Linked DNA regions of Homo sapiens: regions 1 and 2 are each linked to region 3. The links are contacts of gene promoters, found by promoter capture Hi-C in blood cells and fetal thymus (Javierre and others, 2016). All regions are on one chromosome and are shown on one strand. The core of a region is centred on a gene start or on the middle of the fragment in contact, and the rest is flanking DNA. Distances in the headings are between cores, read along the strand shown.

Region 1 (3,152 bases), core at 277-2,776, 420 kb before region 3:
GGCTCAGCAGGCACCAGGTGGAGTGACAGGATGAGGTTCGGCAGTGGGGTCTGTAGAGGGCTCACAGGCCATTTTTGAGAGCTTTCGCTTTTACTTTGCAGGGTTTTGAGAGGAGTATCGTTACCTGATTTCCATCTTATCGGGAGCATTCTAGCTTCAGGGACCTGGCAAGAGAGGATGATGGCTTGGACCTGGGTGGTGGCGCTGGGGATGGTGAAGAAGTGGTTGGATTCTGGATATATTTTGAAGGAGGAGCCAGTAGTGGGGAAAGGTTCCAATTCAGGCGATTTTACATAAAAATCTAGATACGCAGCAGGCACTCACTTATGGCAAGGGTGGGCTTGTCTGAGGGTGGCTTCTGGTTTTGGTGGTTTGGATGTGAGAGAAGGGAAGGAATGAAGGATGACACCAAGGAGTCTACTAGAGTTTGTTCCAAAATGGCTGTTCTGGCCGCGTGCGGTGGCTCCCAGGACTTTGGGAGGCCGAAGCAGGCGGATCAGTTGGGGCCAGGAGTTCGAGACCTGCCTGGCCACCATGGTGAAACCCGGTCTCTACTAAAAATACAAAAATTAGCTGGGTGTGGTGGCAGGCGCCTGTAGTCCCAGCTACTCAGGGGCTGAGGCAGGAGAATTGCCTGAACCCAGGAGGTGGAGCTTGCAGTGAGCCGAGATCACGCCACTGCCCTCCAGTGTAGGCGACAGAGTGAGACTCTGTCTCAATACATACATACATACATACATACATACATGCATGCATACATACATACATACATACATAAAATATACAAAGTTGCTGTCCTGCCTTCTTGAGCCCCCAGGAATTGGAACCTTTCCCCACTCTCTGATCTTTTGCTGGGACATGCTGACTGAGCAGCCTTTCTGCTGAGAGCATGGGTAGGAATGTGGAGGGAGCAGTTATGCCTGGGGCTGGCTGCCTGCGGCTGGACCTCTAGCCTCCTGCTGGGAGCAGCAAGAAGCCAGGGATGTGTTTTGAAATCCTTACTTGGTATTGGGTGCTAGGAGCCCCAGACAGGGAGGAGAGTCAGCCTAACGTGCCTCTGGTGACTGGTGTAATTCCATCCTGCACTCTCGCCAAGAGGACAGTGTTTGTGCAATGCATCAGCTGAAGATTCGTGGTGGCTGTCACTTCGGAGGTTTTCAGGGAGGCCTAGCTGCTGCTCTGTGTATTTCAGGTAGCTTGTCACCACTTATCTCTCAGAGAAGGGCAGACCATGGCTGTATCTCCACCATACAGGCTGAACAGCAGACAGGGGTCTCAAACTCCAGTGCCCTGGGCCACACTGGAGGGCACTTGGCTGTCATGGAGTGAAGGGAGAGGCCGCCTTCAGCCCAGCCCATCCTTGCCATGAGTGAGTGCCTGCTGCATTTCTAGATTTTTATATAAAATCTCCTGATTTTTTTTGACTGGTTTAAATTTTTATTATTTTGGTAAAAAACGTATAAAACTTACCATCTTAGTCATTGTTCAGTGTACAGTATTGTTAAGTACATTCGCACTGTTGTGCAGACATTACCACCATCCATCACCAGAACTTTGTCACCTTGCAAAACCGAAACTCTCTACCCATGAAACAATACCTCCCCACTTCCCGTCCCCAGTCCCTGGCAGCCACCTTTTTACTTTCTGTTTCTATGAATTTGACTATTCTAGGTACCTCATGTAAGTAGAAGCATATAGTATTTGTCTTTTGTGACTGGTTTATTTCACTTAGTTAGCATAATGCCCCCCAGGTTCATCCACTTTGTAGCAGGTGTCAGAATTTCCCTTCTTTTCAAGGCTGAATCATATTCCATTGTATGTAGATAACAGTAGTCCCCCTTATCCTTGGAGGATGCATTTCAAGATCCCCAGTGGATACCTGAAACTGCAAAGCCTGTAGATACTATGTTTTTTTCCTATACATACAGATCTATGATAAAGTTTAATTTATGAATTAGGAACAGTAAGAGATTAGCAATAATAACTAGTAATAAAATAGAACAATTATAACAATATACTGTAATGAAAGTTACATGAATGTGATCTCTTAAAATATCTTACTGTACTGTACTCACCTATTTTCAGACTATGGTTGACTGTGGGTAACTGACACCACAGGTAACTGACGTCATGGAAATAAAACCTTTGATAAGGGGGGACTGTATCACATTGTCTTTATCCATTCATCTGTGATGGACACGTGGGTTGCTTCTATCTTTTGCTGTTGTGAACATTGCTGCTATGAATGTGGGCATACATATATCTCTTTCAGACCCCGCTTTCGATATTTTTGGATGTATATACAGAAGCAGAATTGCTGGATCATATAGTAATTCTTGTCCTTTTCTTTTCTTTTTTTTTTTCGAGACGGAGTCTTGCTCTCTTTCGCCCATGCTGGAGTGCAGTGGCGCGATCTCAGCTCACTGCAAGCTCCGCCTCCCGGGTTCATGCCATTCTCCTGCCTCAGCCTCCCCAGTAGCTGGGACTACAGGCGCCTGCCACCACGCCTGGCTAATTTTTTGTATTTTTAGTAGAGTCAGGGTTTCACTGTGTTAGCCAGGATGGTCTCGATCTTCTGACCTCGTGATCCACCCGCCTCAGCCTTCCACAGTGCTGGGATTACAGGTGCGAGCCACCGTGCCCGGCAGTAATTCTTTTCCTTTTAGCTAAGGAACACCCATACTGTTTTCCACAGCAGCTGCACCATTTCACATTCCCACCAACAGGGCACAAGAGTTCCAATTTCTCCACATCCTTGCTAGCACTTTATTTTCTGTTTTGTTTTTCTTTTCCTGATAGTAGCTCTCTTAGTGGTTGTGAGGGGATAGTGGGGTGATATCTCATTATGGTTTTGATTTGCATTTCCCTGATGATTAGTGATGTTGAGCATCTTTTCATGTGCTTGTTGGCCATTTGTATATCATCTTTGGACTTGAAATGTCTATTTAAGTCTTTTGTCCATTATATTTATTTATTTATTTTGAGATGGAGTCTTCCTGTTACCCAGGCTGGAGTGCAGTGGCATGATCTCTGCTCACTGCAACCTCCACCTCCTGGGTTCAAGCAATTCTCCTGCCTCAGCCTCCCAAATAGCTGGGACTACAGGTGTGTGTCACCACACCAGGCTAATTTTTTTTCTATTTTTAGTAGAC
Region 2 (3,205 bases), core at 167-2,666, 310 kb before region 3:
CTGTCATGCCTTCTTTACAATCTTCTTTGCCAAAAACACATCCTATTTTTCTGATATGTTCTGTATAAATAATTGCTTCTCTTAGAACTAGTAGTTTTAATTCCACATATTAACTACAATTTTATCTCTTAGTAACCTTAGTTTCTAGTGAAAAACCTATAAGTTATTTTGAACTATTTTATATCATTATTTATAGATGAAAACCATTTCATAACTTTTTAGGAAGATGTTACTTCATTTTTTTTGTTTATTAACCGATCTAAATGTATTTTAGCTTTTCTATACCATATGAAAATGAGATGCTGCCCAGGCATGGCGGCTCAGGCCTGTAATCCTAGCACTTTGGGAGGCTGAGGCAGATGGATCACTTGAACTCAGGAGTTCAAGACCAGCCTGGGCAACATAGTGAAATCTTATCTCTACAAAAAACAAAAAATTAGCTGGGCGTGGTGGTGCATGCTTGTGGTCTCAGCTACTTGCAAGGCTGAGGTGGGAGGATCGCTTCAGCCAGGGAAGTGAGGTTGCAGTGAGTTGGGATTGTGCCACTGCACTCCAGCCTGGGTGACAGAGCAAGACTCTATCTAAAAAAAAAGAGAAGAAAAGAAAGAAATAAGATGCCCAAGTACATAAGCTTATGTTTAATATTTCAGTATTTTAACTTACTTAGAAATGACTTAGACATTTTATGATTACATATTCATTAATTTAAGATAAGATGACTTATAATATACAAGTACCCTCCCCAGTGTCTTCCTCAGTCATCTTGGGTCCCAAGTACCCATGTGGCACCAAGGATGGCAATGAAGGGCGAGCCCATCTCGATCCTGAATTTATATGCCAGGTGTAGAGCTTAGGATGGAGCTGTGAAGACAATGCCTGGAGGATCTGACCCTTTCCCACATGGGTAGGAAACACAGCTGGGCCAGGGAGGACATATTGGGTTTGTCTCTGCCCTGTCACTGGTGGCTTAGGTGCTATAGACATACATATGTCTTCAGGGCTTACTATGGCCACCTGTGTAGAATCCAGACTCTAAAGGTGCAAAACCAAAGACGGAAGCTCACAGTAAGATGTATGCAATGCTTCAGGGAAGCCTAGCAGCCACTCACACAGCTTTAGCTCACAAATAAATCAAGAAAGTATAAAAAAATTACAGAAGCAACAGCTGTATGACCTTAAAATATCTAGCAAAGACAGTAAAACCCGTCCAACCCATAGACCCAGGCAAAAATGTCTTAACTATATTTAATACCGACAATTCTGAAAAATCCTAATTTCATATTACCAACGATTTTAAAACTAGTTTTATTTATAAAAGATGACTAAAGTCACATGAACTTAAAAAGCATTTGGTAGCCAGGCATGGTGGCATGTACCTGTAGTCCTAGCTACTCAGGAGGCTGAAGCAGGGGATCACTTGAGCCCAGAAGTTCAAAGATGCAGCAAGCTATGATCACATCACTGCATACCAGCCTGCGTGACAGAGTGAGACCCTGTCTCAAAAAAAGAAAGAACAAAAGAAAGAAAGAATGAAGGAAAGAAGGAAGGAAGGAAGGAGAGTGAGAAAGAAAGAAAGAAAGAAAGAAAGAAAGAAAGGAAGGAAGAAAGAGAAAGAAAGAAAGAAAGAAAGAAAGGGAGAGAAGAAAGGCATTTGGATTTACGTATTTAATTTATGAACATTCATTTATTACAAGTCAACTTGGAACCATGTAGACAGTATACAAACAAAGACATGTATGCTGTATACATAAAAAATACAGACAGGCCAGGTGGGTGGCTCATGCTTGTAATCGCAGCACTTTGGGAGGCTGGGGCTGGAGGATCACTTGAGCCCAAAATTTGAGGCTAGCCTGGCCAACATAAGGAGATCCCATCTCTACAAAAATAATTTTTAAAAATATCAGCTGGGTGTGGGTGGTGCTCATCTATTGTCCCAGCTACTTGGGAGGCTAGGGTGGGAGGACTGCCTGAGCCCAGAAAGTCAAGGTACTCCAGCCTGGGTGACACAGTGAGACTTTGTCTCAAAAAACCAACAAACAAAAAATCCAAAACAAACAAACAAAAAAAACCTACACAGACACAAAAATAATGATGTTAATGCTTTTACTTAAAGTTTTAGCCATAAAACTGGTAAAACTCACTAGTTTAAAAGGACAGTTGGATTAAATTGTGCCTTGTTAAATGGAGTAAGTTAAAGCTTATTGAAGCCCTTGTCAAGTTTTTGAGAAAACAGAGTAGCAAACTTGCATCTCAATGCACAGAGAGAATTTAAACATTTTCAGGGAGTTTGGGTGTATTAGAAGAAGATTAAAAATGGATGCCAAAGCCAGGTGTGGTGTCTCACACCTGTAATCCCAGCACTGTGGGAGGCGGAAGTGGGCAGATCACCTGAGGTCAGGAGTTCCAGACCAGCCTGGCCAACATGGTGAAACCCCATCTCTATCAAAAATACAAAAATTAGCCGGGTTTGATGGCAGGCGCCTGTAATCCCAGCTACTCGGGAGGCTGAGGTAGGAGGATCACCAGAATCAGGGAGGCGGAGGTTGCAGTGAGTGGAGATCACACCACTACACTCCAGCTGGGCGACAGAGCGAGACTCCGTCTCAAATAAATAAATAAACCCACAAAGACAACTTACCTTCATGCATCTTTCAGTTTGGAACGGGAATTAGTCAGAAATTCAAAGACAAGTCTGAATTACAATCAATAGGAGGGCTGCAATTTTAAAAGCAATGCTACATTATTTTCTGCCAAGAGAGGTGAAACCACCAGCACCTGACAGCCGATAACTGGATCCTTTTGCCCTGAAGCAGAGTTGGAGAAGGCAGAAGTCCTCAGCAGAGCTCTTTTCCTGAATCTTCTGTGTAGAGACAGAGACCAAAGCCCTGATTCTTAAATGAAAGAGAGGGTTTGAAATTACTGGAGTCAAAGGAACACAATAGAGTGAGGCTGGCACCCAGCACTGAGTCTCAGAGGGAACACTGGGTAGTCAGTGGCGGTCACTCTGAATCCTGTGGATCTGTGCCAGATACGTTAACTTACAGAAAGAAACTGAGGCAAATTAATACAAGTAGAGAATTTATCTGGGGCTAGTTTGGAAACTGCAACTTGGGAGCATAGATTCAAGTTGCCCTGAATATACACTCTGATTAGCAGAAGTTACAGGTGGGTTTTGTTGTTGTTGTTGTTGTGTGTTTGTTTGTTT
Region 3 (3,172 bases), core at 258-2,757:
AGGTACGGAGAAGGAAAGAAGATAGAACTCTATGCCCTGCAAGCTACTGCTAGAAAACTAACACTTCTGTCTTCCCTCGGGACTCTCCTAGGCCCTTTCACCACTTCTCACCTCTCACCCACATTCTGCACTCCCAGCTAAAGCAGCCAAAGGACTATTTGATTTGGCAGAGCTTTCAGGCACAAAGCCCTATGTTCCCTCTGGCCCAAAGCCACTACTCTGAAGGCTGAAAACTGCCCTTTGGCTCAGGTTGCTGTCCAGTCACAGCCTCACAGATAATTTGTGCTGAACCTTGAGGTGAGGGCAGAGGCCACTTCTTTAAATACTTTGTCTTCTCTACTGCCTTACATTTGAAAAGCACAGGTTGGATCAATAAGTATTAAACGTATAGCGTATTACTCCTTTGAAGCCTCCCTGCTTGACTCCTCCCTTTCCTGCCTTCTCATTCCCTACTTTATTGCATCACAGATACGTAATTTATTACCAAGGATCTTTCATAATTCCCCACCCCTGCCTCTTTCTTCTCTTGCCCACACTGTGTGACTTAACAGAGTCAACAATACATATAATTCCACCAGCAACAAAGAAAATAAGTTTTGTTTTCCTATTGTCTGTTTTCATGAAGAGGCCCTTCTTAGTTAATCTGAAAGCTATGGCTTATACCATAGTCCTCCATCATATCTAAAGCCAGGAACTAGAACTTGGGCTTGTGCTTGAGTCCTGGGTAAAGAAGGGTTGAGTGGTGCTAATTCTTGGCTGTCTGGGTGCTCTTGATTAGTGATAGAATCCTAGTCAACACTGTCGCTTATCCAGACCCAGGAGAATAAAAATCTACTTGGCTCTCCTACTCTTCATTCTGGTAGCATCTTAGGCCAGGTAAAGTTCAATAAATTTTTTTGAATTCTAAGAAGTGGGAATTCCTCCCTCAACTCAAAGGCTATATTGTCAAAAACTCAACTCCCGGCTCTGTCGCTTCTTCACTGAGGGCAATTTATCTCCATAATCAAAGATGAATACATTCAGATGAACTCTTCTGTGTGGGTTTAAATTTTACTGTTCAGCATTCAGTCTTGCTAGTAAATAAGAAAAGATGAGAGAAATGGATTGAAAACTCCCACAAGACCCTCTATGGAAAAGGAGCCAAAAGATTGCAGAGGTATATAGAACTTTAGAGCTTTTGAGTTTAATGATGTCTATCCCTATACCTTCTTTCTGGAAAGCAGATTTTTGTGAATTGAGGGCAGGAACATTACAGAACTGATGCTTCATGGCTCTGGAATACTAAGTCCTCTGAGCCTGGATCTCCTTCAGCTCTGCCACCTACCTCCTTGTTTGCTAAATGTCCTTAGAGAAGTTAGGATATGCCTGGGGAACCCTGGGTCATATAACCATGACAACTGGCTGACCCTGTTGTCTCTCCCTCTCTGCCCTCCTCTAGCTGGGAGGTGGAAGCAGCATTGCCCAAGCCTCCCAGGAGTGACAGGAATTGTTTCTGCCTGAGGAGACACTCTGCAGCCTGGGCTCTGTGAGACTGAGGTGGCGGTCAGCCGGAGTGAGTGTTGGGGTCCTGGGGCACCTGCCTTACATGGCTTGTTTATGAACATTAAAGGGAAGAAGTTGAAGGTAAGGGCCTCTTGGGGATTTTGCTGGGGATGAAAAACTCTGCAGGGAAACTACTGAGGGAGAGATTCTGGTATAGATACCAGAATCTAGAAATAGAGGAATTGGATAGGCACAGTGGATCATGCCTTTAATCCCAGCACTGCAGGTGGCCAAGGCAGGTGGATCACTTGAGCCCAGGAGTTCAAGAACAACCTGGGCAACACAGTGGGATCCTGTCTCTATAAAAAAAGAGAAAAAATTAGCCCTGCATTGTGGTGCATGCCTGTAGTCCCAGCTACATGAGAGGCTGAGGTGGGAGGGTACCTTGATCCCAGGAGGTCAAGGCTGCATTGAGCCATGATCGTGCCACCACATTCCATCCTGGGCAACAGATTGAGACCCTGTCTCAAAAAACAGATAGGGAGAGGGGGAGAGGGACAGACAGAGAGAAAGAGAGAAATAGAGGAATTAACCCAGAGCCTTTTCAAAGATGAAACCTTTAACTTGTTTATTTATTTTTTTAGAGATGGGCATCTCACTGTATTGCCGAGGCTGATCTCAAACTCCTGGGCTCAAGCAATTCTCCCATGTCAGCCTCAGTAGCTGGGATTACAGGTGCTTGCCAGTGCACCCAGCTTGAAACTTCTTGTTTTAGTCTCTTTTGGACCCTCATTTAAGAGCCTTAAGATTTTATCTAAAACTTTTTATCTCTTATGGCTACCTGCATTTTTTATTTCCTAACCTGAACTCCTTTTTTTTTTTGAGACAGAGTCTCCCTCTGTCACCCAGGCTGGAGTGCAGTGGCAGGATCTCAGCTCACTGCAACCTCCACCTCTCAGGCTCAAGCGATCCTCCTGCCTCAGCCTCCCAAGTAGCTGGGATTACAGCTGCCCACCACCACGTCTGGCTAATTTTTGTATTTTTAGCAGAGACGGAGTTTCACCATGTTGCCCAGGCTGGTCTTGAACTCCTGAACTCAGGTGATCTGCCTGCCTTGGACTCCCAAAGTGCCGGGATTACAGGCCTGAGCCACCGCGCCTGGCCTCTTAACCTGAACTCTTATAGGAAACATTATTCTTGGCCGGGCATGGTGGCTCTTGCCTGTAATCACAGCACTTTGGGAGGCCAAGGTGGGCAGATCACTTGAGGCCAGGAGTTCGAGACCAGCCTGGCCAACATGATGAAACCCCATCTCTACTAAAAATACAAAAATTAGCCAGTGTGGTGGTTCATGCCTGTAATCCCAGCACTTTGGGAGGTCTAGGCAGGTGGATCACTTGAGGTCAGGAGTTCGACACCAGCCTAGCCAACATGGTGAAACCCCATCTCTACTAAACAGAAAAAAAAAAAAAAACTAGCCGGGCGTGGTGGTGGGCGCCTGTAATCCCAGCTACTTGGGAGGCTGAGGCAGGAGAATCCCTTGAACCCGGGAGGCGGAGGTTGTAGTGAGCCGAGATTGTGCAACTACACTCCAGCCTGGGCAACAGAGCAAGAATCCATCTCAAAAAAAAAAAAAAAGAAAGAAAGAAAAGAAAAAGAAAGAAACATCAGTCTTGACAAGTAAGCTATG

Evidence for each region. Contacts are between HindIII fragments. The CHiCAGO score rates a contact against its expected background, and 5 or more counts as called.
Region 1: a contact is called between a fragment that was not itself captured here and the fragment with the promoter of PLIN1 in region 3, in 1 of 17 cell types (M2 macrophages). The highest score is 5.1, in M2 macrophages.
Region 2: a contact is called between a fragment that was not itself captured here and the fragment with the promoter of PLIN1 in region 3, in 1 of 17 cell types (endothelial precursors). The highest score is 5.1, in endothelial precursors.

Annotation. Positions count from the first base shown.
Region 1 is chr15:90,096,128-90,099,279 of GRCh38, reverse strand. The region is part of intron 1 of IDH2 (isocitrate dehydrogenase (NADP(+)) 2); the gene reads left to right. Among named protein-coding and RNA genes, the nearest start is that of IDH2-DT, 4.4 kb to the left of the region's middle. The HindIII fragment of the contact is 4,798 bases long and covers 1-3,152 here.
Region 2 is chr15:89,982,586-89,985,790 of GRCh38, reverse strand. No RefSeq gene overlaps it. Among named protein-coding and RNA genes, the nearest start is that of ZNF710, 17 kb to the left of the region's middle. RefSeq lists an enhancer at 2,833-3,205. The HindIII fragment of the contact is 1,566 bases long and covers 634-2,199 here.
Region 3 is chr15:89,677,702-89,680,873 of GRCh38, reverse strand. It overlaps PLIN1 (perilipin 1), which reads left to right and starts at 1,507. Exons shown (of 9, transcript NM_002666.5): 1 at 1,507-1,623. The HindIII fragment of the contact is 7,659 bases long and covers 1-3,172 here.